Regions from separate parts of the Homo sapiens genome. Here all the other regions are linked to region 4. The links are contacts of gene promoters, found by promoter capture Hi-C in human tissues and cell types (Jung and others, 2019). All regions are on one chromosome and are shown on one strand. Each heading gives the region's core, a stretch centred on a gene start or on the middle of the fragment in contact. The rest is flanking DNA. Distances are from core to core; before and after follow the strand shown. Region 1 holds the start of FOSB (FosB proto-oncogene, AP-1 transcription factor subunit). Region 2 holds the start of RSPH6A (radial spoke head 6 homolog A). Region 3 holds the start of ERCC2 (ERCC excision repair 2, TFIIH core complex helicase subunit). Region 4 holds the start of GPR4 (G protein-coupled receptor 4).

Evidence for each region. Contacts are between HindIII fragments. The study calls those that stand out against the background at their distance.
Region 1: a contact is called between the fragment with the promoter of FOSB here and the fragment with the promoter of GPR4 in region 4, in 2 of the 25 tissues and cell types used here (dorsolateral prefrontal cortex and lymphoblastoid cells).
Region 2: the fragment with the promoter of RSPH6A here is called in contact with the fragment with the promoter of GPR4 in region 4 in 1 of the 25 tissues and cell types used here (dorsolateral prefrontal cortex).
Region 3: the fragment with the promoter of ERCC2 here is called in contact with the fragment with the promoter of GPR4 in region 4 in 2 of the 25 tissues and cell types used here (adrenal gland and spleen).

What each region holds. Positions count from the first base shown.
Region 1 is chr19:45,466,727-45,469,426 of GRCh38, forward strand. FOSB (FosB proto-oncogene, AP-1 transcription factor subunit) reads left to right here and starts at 1,270. Exons shown (of 4, transcript NM_006732.3): 1 at 1,270-1,986. The coding sequence starts at 1,861. RefSeq lists a silencer at 907-1,186 and an enhancer at 1,371-2,272. The HindIII fragment of the contact is 8,650 bases long and covers 1-2,700 here.
Region 2 is chr19:45,814,056-45,816,755 of GRCh38, forward strand. It overlaps RSPH6A (radial spoke head 6 homolog A), which reads right to left and starts at 1,253. Exons shown (of 6, transcript NM_030785.4): 1 at 472-1,253. The coding sequence starts at 1,121. SYMPK (symplekin scaffold protein) reads right to left here. Exons shown (of 27, transcript NM_004819.3): 25 at 2,427-2,522; 26 at 1,796-2,128; 27 at 1,355-1,642. The coding sequence ends at 1,505. The HindIII fragment of the contact is 35,300 bases long and covers 1-2,700 here.
Region 3 is chr19:45,369,323-45,372,022 of GRCh38, forward strand. ERCC2 (ERCC excision repair 2, TFIIH core complex helicase subunit) reads right to left here and starts at 1,251. Exons shown (of 23, transcript NM_000400.4): 1 at 1,214-1,251; 2 at 811-910. The coding sequence starts at 1,218. RefSeq lists enhancers at 5-846, 1,465-1,544. The HindIII fragment of the contact is 25,658 bases long and covers 1-2,700 here.
Region 4 is chr19:45,600,831-45,603,530 of GRCh38, forward strand. GPR4 (G protein-coupled receptor 4) reads right to left here and starts at 1,382. Exons shown (of 2, transcript NM_005282.3): 1 at 1,265-1,382. The HindIII fragment of the contact is 53,447 bases long and covers 1-2,700 here.

The DNA of each region.
Region 1 (2,700 bases), core at 20-2,519, 130 kb before region 4:
TAATATTGCCATTATCATTTAAAAAAACCCCAGACACAGGTTTTTCAGGGAGTTTCATCCAACCAGGCAGGTCTCAGAAATCAGAAAAGAAATGGAAAGGGTAGGAAATCTGGAGTTTGACAATTCTGAGTTTGAATTTCTTGTGATGGGATCTTGGGCAAGTCATTTAACCTCCCTGAGTATCATTTTTTTCTTTTATAAAATGAAGATTTTTCTCTCTTAACCTTCCAGAGCTGTTTTAAGGATTACAAATCTTCTACTGAAAGGCGTAGCACAGGAGCTGTGCTTGGCAAGTGCCAAATACAAGGCATTAATTATTATTATTAGAATTAATAATAATATCCCCTCCCTCTTACACATTCTTTGTCTCCGGGTGGATTAAAAGGTGGAAGGAGAGGCTACCAACACCATCAGAAGAGAGGCTTCTCTCTAAGTTTCATTTCCCATCTCCTCCAAATCCGCATCCCTCCCAAACGCCGGACCTGTAAGGCCAGCAGGGTCCAAGACACACATCCTTTGCCCAGCGGGGAAGATTAAAGCTAAAGCTCAGAGAGGGAAAACATTTCCTAAGCTCGCACAGCGAATCAGGACAGAAACCAGGACGAGCCTCGGAATCCCTCCATTACCTCCACTTTCACCTGAGCATCACAGCCCGCTCGGGACTCAGTTTCCCCACCTACGTGACCACACCACACTAATCAGGGTCTCCTTTTGGAGATCTGCTCTTCTTCTCGAATGGGGGCGCTGCACCATCGGTAGAACAGGGTAGGTGGGGGCGCCAGAGGTGAAGGGGACCTGCAGGCTGGGGTCTTCCCCGCCCGGGTCAGCGGGGTCCCTGCGGGGCTAGTCTAAGCGCCTATTATTACCAGCCCCCGGGGCGGCGTTGCACTGCGCAGGCGCGGGCGGGGCGCGGGCGCGCGCGCGAGCGAGCGAGGGATTCCCTCTGACGTCATTGCTAGGATACCAAACAAACACTCCGCCGCGCCGGCCGAGCTCCTTATATGGCTAATTGCGTCACAGGAACTCCGGGAAGGCGGGGCCGGGATCCCCTCCCGCCGAGTGGCCCGGAACGCAACCCCCGAGACCCCCAGGGCCCCGAGGGTCATGCAAGTGACCAGATCGAGTCTAGAACAGACCTCTTGCTGGACAGTGCGGGACTCGATTTGGCGGGGCCGGAGATTTGGGGAAGTTTGTCCAGCAAGGGGCGGGTGACGTAAGCAGGGGGGCGGGTCCCGGGCATATAAATACAGGCTGGCGGGTCTGTGCTTCATTCATAAGACTCAGAGCTACGGCCACGGCAGGGACACGCGGAACCAAGACTTGGAAACTTGATTGTTGTGGTTCTTCTTGGGGGTTATGAAATTTCATTAATCTTTTTTTTTCCGGGGAGAAAGTTTTTGGAAAGATTCTTCCAGATATTTCTTCATTTTCTTTTGGAGGACCGACTTACTTTTTTTGGTCTTCTTTATTACTCCCCTCCCCCCGTGGGACCCGCCGGACGCGTGGAGGAGACCGTAGCTGAAGCTGATTCTGTACAGCGGGACAGCGCTTTCTGCCCCTGGGGGAGCAACCCCTCCCTCGCCCCTGGGTCCTACGGAGCCTGCACTTTCAAGAGGTACAGCGGCATCCTGTGGGGGCCTGGGCACCGCAGGAAGACTGCACAGAAACTTTGCCATTGTTGGAACGGGACGTTGCTCCTTCCCCGAGCTTCCCCGGACAGCGTACTTTGAGGACTCGCTCAGCTCACCGGGGACTCCCACGGCTCACCCCGGACTTGCACCTTACTTCCCCAACCCGGCCATAGCCTTGGCTTCCCGGCGACCTCAGCGTGGTCACAGGGGCCCCCCTGTGCCCAGGGAAATGTTTCAGGCTTTCCCCGGAGACTACGACTCCGGCTCCCGGTGCAGCTCCTCACCCTCTGCCGAGTCTCAATATCTGTCTTCGGTGGACTCCTTCGGCAGTCCACCCACCGCCGCCGCCTCCCAGGTAAGTTTTTGATAGTAGGGGTGCTGCTTTGTAGGTTTTATTTTTTAAGTCAAGGGTGAAAAGAATAAACCCCAACCCCCACAAAAAGGCGCATCAGAACCCTAGATCTGAGATGGAAAAGGCTCACAGCGCACTTTGCAAACTGCAAAGAGTCGGGAGATGTTTGCAATTGGTTGCGTGCGTGGAGCGCAAGGAGGGAACGCGGCAGGGAGGGTAGGCTTTGGGGCGAGGTGGGGGTGGGGTGGGTAATGCGCTGCTCAATGCAACGTGTATGCGGTAGCGGGGCTGAGAACTTTGAGCCGGCCCCGGGACTGCCCCCTGCTCGGGTCCCAGACCTGAAGCTAGCGCAGTTAGGCAGGTGGGGGAAATCCCGGGGAAGCTTCCAGCAGTCTCTTTTCCTTTCCTCCTCCTTCGGAGCGCCCACTTCGGTGCCGGGTCGCCCTCCACCCATCGGGAAGAGGGGCCTCGAACCCTCAGCCGCGCTGCCTCCGCCTCCTGCGCGGAGACGTAACGGGGGACCCGTGCGTAACGGCTGACGCGCTGGAATCCTCCGTCTGACGCGGGGCACGCACGGCGCGCGGCGCCCCCTTCGTCCGCCCCGCCCCTGACGTCCCGGGAGCGTTCTATTTTGGAACGCCGGGGCCACGTTGCTAAGGGAGGGGGCAGCCCGGCGTTTCGATTGGCCGCCGGGGCGCACGCCTTGGCCAATCAGCT
Region 2 (2,700 bases), core at 3-2,502, 210 kb after region 4:
GGCTGAAGCAGAAGAATCACTTGAACTTGGGAAGGAGAGGTTGCCCTAAGCCAAGACCACGCCACTGTGCTCCAGCCTGGGTGACAGGGTGAGACTATGTCTGGGGGAAAAAAAAAGCAAGAGGGCTTGGGGAGCCAAATCACGTGTTCTGGAATCCTGACTCTGCCATATCCTAGCTGTGTAGTTTTGGGTAAGCGACCCAACTTCTCTGTGTCTCGGTCTCCTCCTCTGTAAAGTAGGATGAGCTGATGTGCTCATCTCCGGTGAGAATTAGGTGAGTGTGTGCAGTGCCAGCACATGTCTGGGAAGTGAATGCTAGCTGTTGTTGGCATTGATTCCGACTCAGCTGAATTAGAGTCACTGGTTTTCCATGAGGGATGATCCCTTGTCTGACTGACTGAGGCAGGCACTTCGGGTGGGGCCCCTCCCTGCCTGGGTCCCCCACCCGCCCCACTCCTAGCCCCTGCTCACAGGCTGAGGTCGCAATTGATGCTGGTCTGCAGCAGGTAGGCCTTGGCGTTCTGCACGGCCAGCTCCAGAGGCTCGGGCTCAGGCACCTGGGCACTGTAGTGTGGGAAGCCCAGCTCAGAGGGCAAGAACTGAAGGGCAGGGTCATCCCTTATGTAAGGCCCGTGCTGGGCACCTTCAGAGAACTGGTCTGTCTGGTAGAGGTTGAACTGGCCCAAGGGGTTGACTGGGGGCTCCTGGAAGGTGGGGTCCAGTTGCTGGAACAGGCTGCTTTGGCCCTGCTGGAGCCGCTGCAGCATTAGGCTGGTGGTGAGCTCGGCGACCTGCATCCTGCTTTCATCAGAGTAAGGCTGAGGCTGGAACTCTGAGGGAAAGCCCGTGTTCACAGATGGGTACTCCATGCCACCCAGCCGGGCTTCCTCAGCCTGGAAGACCTGGGGCATCAGCAAGTTCTCCTGTTGGGACAGGCTGCCCCTCTGTGACCAACCAGGGGCGTTTCGCTGGGCGTCTGGAGGTATCTGCTGCCTCTCCTCGGGGTCCGCTGCCAGGGCCTGAGCTTGGTCCCGACTGTGCCGCCTCTGGGAGGCCTGAGAAGTCCTCCGGCCCGGAGGCTGCTGGGCAGGGCGCTCAGGGTAGGGCGGCAGGTCTCCCATGGTTCGCCAGGAGGCACAGATCTCTAGGAGAAAGGCTTGCAGACAAGGAGGCCAAGCGAGAGCCACCTGTCGACACCGCCGGTTTCTGAGCACCGAGAGAGGGGGCCGTTACCCGTGGAGGGCGCGGGGAGCGGGCCAGGGTGGGTTCCGCGCAGGCTCTGGGCGCGCACTCCCGATCCCGCGCAGCCCCACGGTGGACGTCGCGCCAGACTCGAGACGGCACCCGCGCCCCAGGCCCGCCATCCCTTTTTTTTTTTCTTTTCAGTAACTTGCCCAAGTTCACATCTTTTATTTCTTTTTAAGGCAAAGCACCCGCAGGTCAAGCCCCGCCCCGTCCCCCAGCCCCGAGTCCCTGTCCCACCCCCTTTCCCCCTCGAGCCCCGTCAGCTGTTCCCCTTGGCCTCGGGTTCCCTGGCGTCCTCGGCAGCCGGGCTGGGAGTCTTCATAGCATCTTCTCCAACAGGTGCGAGGGTCTGGGGGCTCCGCTCCTCCTTCAAGGTCAGCCCGCCCGCTGCCGTCTCCTGGTGACCGGGGAAGGAAAGGGCAGCCGGGTGGAGGGCGCGGTCACCTCCACGCTCCCCTTCAGGCCCTGCCCCCTGATGGCCCCTCCTCCCCCACCTTCACCCCGGCCCAGATCCGGCTTCTTCCTTCGCAGCGGAGGCTGCTCTCCCTACCTTGGGTAGGGGGCCCTCGAGACTAGAGTCCAACAGCGCGGCCTCGGTCAGCCCCGAGTCGTCATCCATGCTGATGAAGATGCCCGGGGTCTCGCACTCAGGCCCCTCCTCCCGGAAATCCATGGCTTCCTCAGACGGGGGCGGGCCTGGCCGGGCCGACGGAGAGGGAGAGGGGGAGGAAGAGGAGGGGGCTCCCACTCCTCCCGGCTTCAGCTTCTGTTCCTCCTCCAGCTGCCGCTTTAAGGCCTTCTCCTGGGCCAGTCGCAGGCCGATGAGGTCCTGAGGGGGCCGGGGTGCTGGGGCCGGGGCCAAGGTCAGGGGCTCCAGATCATCCTGGGGATAGGGAGGGCCACACAGAAGCTCAGAGGTGGGTGGCTCAGAGGACGGCCGGAAAGAGAAGGAACCACCCTGAGGTGGTCTTTGAGTTCTTCACCAAGAGCATGGGGAGGAAGGGGCAGTTGTCCCCCAGACCCCCAACTCCCAGCAGGAGCATCCCCTGGGAGACGGGTGGCCCAGAGGCAGGGGTGGCCTGAGTCTCTCGGGGTCAGGAGGAGGCCATGGTGAGCCTTGCTGGCTTGGGGTAGGGGGTGGGAGTCTGGGGATCCAGATGGGTGGGCTGCAGGGCCCTCACCTCCTCCAAGGGCCCCGCAGGCGCCTCCTTGGCCTCTGGCTCCTGCTTGCCGCTGGCCTCCAAGATGGTCATGATGGAGTTAGGGATGTGAGCTTGCTGGGTGGAGAGCAGGAAGGGGGCGCTGGGGGCAGCTCTGGCACAGAGACCCCATTTGCACACCTCAGGTCCGGGGGCCCTAACCCTCCAGAACTCCCAGCAGTGCAGGGCCTTCTTGTGTCCGCCTCCATCCAGTCCCCACCAACCAGAGGGACCCAGGGGGCCGCCCACCGCACAC
Region 3 (2,700 bases), core at 1-2,500, 230 kb before region 4:
GTCTTAGGCAAGTACCTTCACCTCCCCAGACCTCAGTATCCCTATCTCTAAAATGAGCCTAAAGCCAGGCGTGGTGGCTCACACCTGTAATCCCAGCACTTTGGGAGGCTGAGGCAGGTGAACCACCTGAGGTCAGAAGTTCAAGACCAGCTGGGCCAACAAGGTGAAACCCCGTCTCTACTAAAAATACAAAAAATTAGCCAGATGTGGTGGCGCGCACCTGTAATTCAATCTCAAAAATAAATAAATAAAATAAAATGGGCCTAATAATAAAACCTTCCTCATAACATGACTATGAGGATTGTGAGAAATTGCAGGTTAAATATTTGGCACAGTAGCTGATATATAGTGAACTTTTCTCCCTTCTTTTTTAAGAGACAAGTGTCACTATTGCCCAGGCTGGAATGCAGTGGCACAATCATGGCTCACTGCAGCCTCCAACTCCTGGCCTCAAGCGATCCTCCTGCCTCAGCCTCCCGAGTAGGTGGGATTACAGGCGCCCGCCACCACACCTGGCTAATTTTTGTATTTTTAGTACAGACGGGGTTTCACCGTGTTGGCCAGGCTGGTCTCCAACTCCTGACCTCAAGTGATCCGCCCGCCTCGTCCTCCCAAAGCTCTGGGATTACAGGCGCGAGCCACCGCGCCCAGCCTATTCACCATTATTGTTTTAGATAACGGAAGATTATGGGGTCCTGGATTCCCAGGGACCTCGGACTTCTAAAATCCAGACGTCCTGCAATCTGTCTTAGGCCCAGGCGTGGCAGCCCCACCGGTCGAGTGGGCGGGTCGGGCCCACCGGCCACCCACCTTGGCGTCCAGCGTGCGTTTGAGCTCCCGCATGTAGGAGAACTGCTCGGGGTAGATGTAGTCGTACGGGAAGTAGACCAGGAGCCCGTCCACGTTGAGCCTGGCGGCAGGGGCTGCTGGGTCAGTTCCCGTCCCCTCAGCCCCTCTCCCGCCTCCACAGTGCCCGGTCGTCGAGCCCAGAGAAGGGTGACGGGCCCGGCGCCCCCGGTAACCCTCAGGTCCTCAGGAGCCTCGGGGCCCCCTCAGTGTCTCCTCGCTATCACTGCTGCTCCCTGCGGCTGCCCCCGTCCCACCCCTTCACCCTCCCCTCGCCCCCTTGGGGACCCAGGCGCGCCCACCGATGACCCCATCTTCAAGACCCCCCGCGCCCGCTAGCGAGCGCGACCCCCAGCCCCCTTCTCACTTCATGGCGCCGGCCGGACTGTGCAGCGGGGTCGACCCGCCTCCCTCATGAATATTCAGCGAGAGGCCGGGTCGTGGACATCCTCGAGGGCTCGCTCCACCTATATTACGAGACCATTGGCTAACCTGCCCGTCAATCCGCTAGGGCAGAGCCAATCGGGATACTGCGCGTGCGCACGGAAAAGCGAGGGCGGCTGACTCTCGGGTGAGGCGGTGCGGGAGGCGTCACTGAGGATCGTCGAGGGCCAATCAAAAAGAAAACATGGAAGGGAAAGAGCCGAGAGACTCGATCTCATTCACTAGAATTTGGTCCTCCTGCGCCTGCCAAGATTGTCTGAGTATTGATCGAACCCAGGAGTTCGAGATCAGCTTGAGCAAGATAGCGAGAACCCCCGCCCCTCCACCTCGTCTCAAAAAAAAAAAAAAATCGTCTCAGTAGCGAATAGTCTAACGGAGAATGACAGGGAAATTGGTGATCCTTTCTGGGCCCAAGAGTTAGAAATGGCTTTGCAGGCCGGGCGCGGTGGCTCAAGCCTGTAATCCCAGCACTTTGGGAGGCTGAGGCAGGTGGATCACCTGAGGTCGGGAGTTCAAGACCAGCCTGACCAACATGGAGAAAACCTGTCTCTACTAAAGATACAAAATTAGCCGGGCGTGCTGGCAAATGCTTGTAATCCCAGCTACTCGGGAGGCTGAAGCAGGAGAATTGCTTGAACCTGGGAGGCAGAGGTTGCAGTGAGCAGAGATGGCGCCGTCGCACTCTAGCCTGGGCAACAAAAGCGAAACTCCATTTCAAATATTAATAATAATAACTAATAAATAAAACATAAATGCTAGCTTTTGTTTGTTTCTTCAACAAATAGCTATGTGGCATCTACCATGTGTCTGATCCTGTGCTGGCCCCTGGGAACAGAAAGGTGACCATGACAGCCTCAGCACCTGCCCTCAAAGAACAGATTTTTTTCCTTGAGACAGGGTCTTTCTCTGTCGCCAAGGCTGGAGTGCAGTGGCACAGTCACAGCTCACTGCAGCCTCCACCTCTTGGGCTCAAGCGATCCTCCCACCTCAGCTTCCAGAGTAGCTGGGACCACAGGTGTGCACCACCAAGCCCAGCTAAGTTTTATTTTTTAAATTTTTTTAGAGACGAGGTCTCACCACGTTGCCCAGGCTGGTTAAACTCGCAGGTTCAAGTGATCCTCTCCCCTCAGCCTTTCAAATTGTTGGGATTACAGGGGTGAGGCACCAGGCCTGGCCTCAAAGAACAGATATTAAATATACAAATGAATATATGATTACAGCCTGGAGTGGTGGCTCGTGCCTGTGGTTCCAACACTTTGGAAGGCCAAGGCGAGTACATTGCTTGAGCTCAGGAGCTAGAGACCAGCCTGGGCAACATGGTGAAAACCCGTCTCTACAAAAAATGCAAAAATTAGCTGGGCGTGGTGGCGTGCACCTGTAGTCCCAGATACTCAGGAGGCTGAGGTGGGA
Region 4 (2,700 bases), core at 132-2,631:
TCCCCAGGACCTTTGATTGGAAAGATCTGGAATTCCCAGGCCTCCCCTCCAATGCTTCTTCCATCTGGGCCCTTCCATTCAAAGATGTTCACATTCAAGGTACTTGATCATAGGATTCCCAGGGTTCCAGGAGCCCCTATGGGTCTTTCATCCTCTTCAGCTGGGATTCCCCCAGAAAAGAAAACCTCCTCATCCTCACCCCAAACCTGAAGTCAAGTTCATCTACAAAGACAGAGGTGGGGGCGGATACCCCCTTGGTGGGCTCAGGAGGAGGGGGGCTGATGGTGGGCTCTGGAGGGGGAACTGGGGGGTGTGGCCCCATCCTCTCCACTTCTGCGCCAAACAAATTCCCCAATGCATATCCAGCCTGAGTACGCACACACACACATCCCACAACCGATGCCTCACAGATATCCTAGAGCTATTCCTCAGCCTAGTTTGGGAGGAGGGGTTGTCCAGTTCCAGGGGGGAGAGTGAGGCGGAAGCAGGAAAGAGTTAATGGTGACCCAGCCAAATCCTGGAAGAGAGGAAGTAGGGGAGGAAGTCCACCCCCCAGGCAGGAATTCCTGAAATTGGCGGGCGGGCTGGGTGCGACCTGAGGGGCAGTGGGGTGGCTCCGTGAAGGGGGCGCTGGGATCATGGTGTCACTTAGAGTCCGCCTGCCCCAGGTCACAAGCCTCCTGCCCCCTACCCCACTCCCAAGCAGGTTCCCAGCCCAGAGGAAAGTTCCGGGATGCGGAGGATTTGGAAGGAGAGAAGACAGAGCTGAAGGTGCCAAAACAGTGTTATAAGAGACGGAGAGAAAGAGACAGGGCAATAGAGATGAAGAGACAGGAAGGGAGAGAGCAAAGAGATACACAGAGACAGGGAGAGATGGAGATAGAGTCAGAGACATCCGCAGAGGTCCCACAACAGACGGGGGTGAGGCAGAGGCAGGGGCAGAGGGAGGTGGGACCCAGAAACAGAGAGACAGAGACAGACAGACGGAGACAGAGAGGCAGAGATCAAGAAAAAGACAGAGACATCCAGAGACACAGAAGGAAAGACACGTCCAGAGGCAGAGGGACCACAGACACAGAGACATCAGGCGGGAGTTGGAGACAGACGCAAAGCCAGGGAGAGCAACAGAGGGGGCGGGCACCGAGACGGCGCGGGAGACTGAGGCAGCCCCCGAGGGGGCGGGGAGGAGCGGTCTCGCCACGAGCAGGGCAACCTAGTGAGACCCCGCAGCATCGCGGGCAGCCGGGGAGGACCCGGCACTTACCTGCGCGCGGCGACTGGACGGGGCGGGCGGCGGCACCTCTCTCCGCTGCGTCCAGGTCCCCGGTCTTGACAACGGCGCGGGGACCCAGCGGATGCCCCCGCGGGGCAGAACAGCGGCTACTCCTCCCGGCCCCCGGGCCAGAGCCGCCAGCCGAGGCCCCGCCCCGGCCAGGCCCGCCCCCATTAACCCCACCTTTGCCGCTGCCCCTTAACCCCTTTCAGGCTTCACCCCATTAAACGCCTCCAGCCACGGGTGAGGCTCATCTGCTACTGGAACACCCCCGAATCCTTCCAAGTCCCCAGCTGGAAGGTCCCCTCTCTCCAACCACACACCCCCAAATTTATCAGGTCCTCGGCTATGGGAAGAGGAGGCCCCCGCTACTGACCTTCCCTGGGTTAAGCCATTTCCTCCCTTAGAGACCCCAGGCTTCAGTCATTCATCCTCTGGTCATTAACCTTCTGCATCTTCCTCCCCAACAACGGAGAGAATAAAGGGTTCTGTTAGGTCCCCAACTCCAAAGTCAGGGCCACCCCTAGAAGGAGCTCTGGGGTTGCATTTCCAGCCTGACTCTTGGTCAGACCTTAGGCTAGTGACATCTCCGTGCCTCAGTTTCCTCTTTGAATCAAGGTGGTCACTCATGGTGCCTGCTTGCTTCCTTCTTTTCTTTGCTTTGCTTTGCTTTGCTTTTTTCTTTCTTTTCTTTCGAGACAGAGTCATGCTCTGTTGCCCAGACTGGAGTGCAGTGGCACAATCTTGGCTCACTGCAATCTCTGCCTTCCAGGTTCAAGCGATTCTCCTGCCTCAGCCTCCCGAGTAGCTGGGATTACAGGCACACACCACCACGCCCGGCTAATTTTTGTATTTTTAATAGAGACGGGGTTTCACCAAGTTGGCCAGGCTGGTCTCGAACTCCTAAGCTCCAGCTATCTGCCCACCTCGGCCTCCAAAAAGTGTTGGGATTACAGGCGTGAGCCACCGTGCCCCACCTTTTTTCTTTTTTTGAGACAGGTTTTCACTCTCTTGCCCAGTCTGGAGTTCAGTGGCACGATCATGGCTCCCTGCGGCCTCAACCTTCCAGGCTCAAGTGATCCTCCCACCTCAGCCTCCTGAGTTGCTGGGACTACAGGCGTGTGCCACCACACCTGGCCAATTTAAAAAATTTTTTTTTTCTATAGACAGGGGTCTCACTATGTTGTCTAGGCTGGTCTCAAACTCCTGGGCTCAAGCCATCCTTCTGCTTTGGCCTCCCAAAGTGCTGGGATTATAAGCCTGAGCCACCGAGGCCGGCCATCATGGTCCTTTTCTCCTGGCGGTCTCATTTAATGGTGTCAATGCTATCAAGTCTGTAAAATATGCCAACCAGACCCCAACACTCCCCATCTTTCTCTGCCTCACTTTTCCCCTACCCTTTGGGGAAGGCAACATTCTCTTATTTT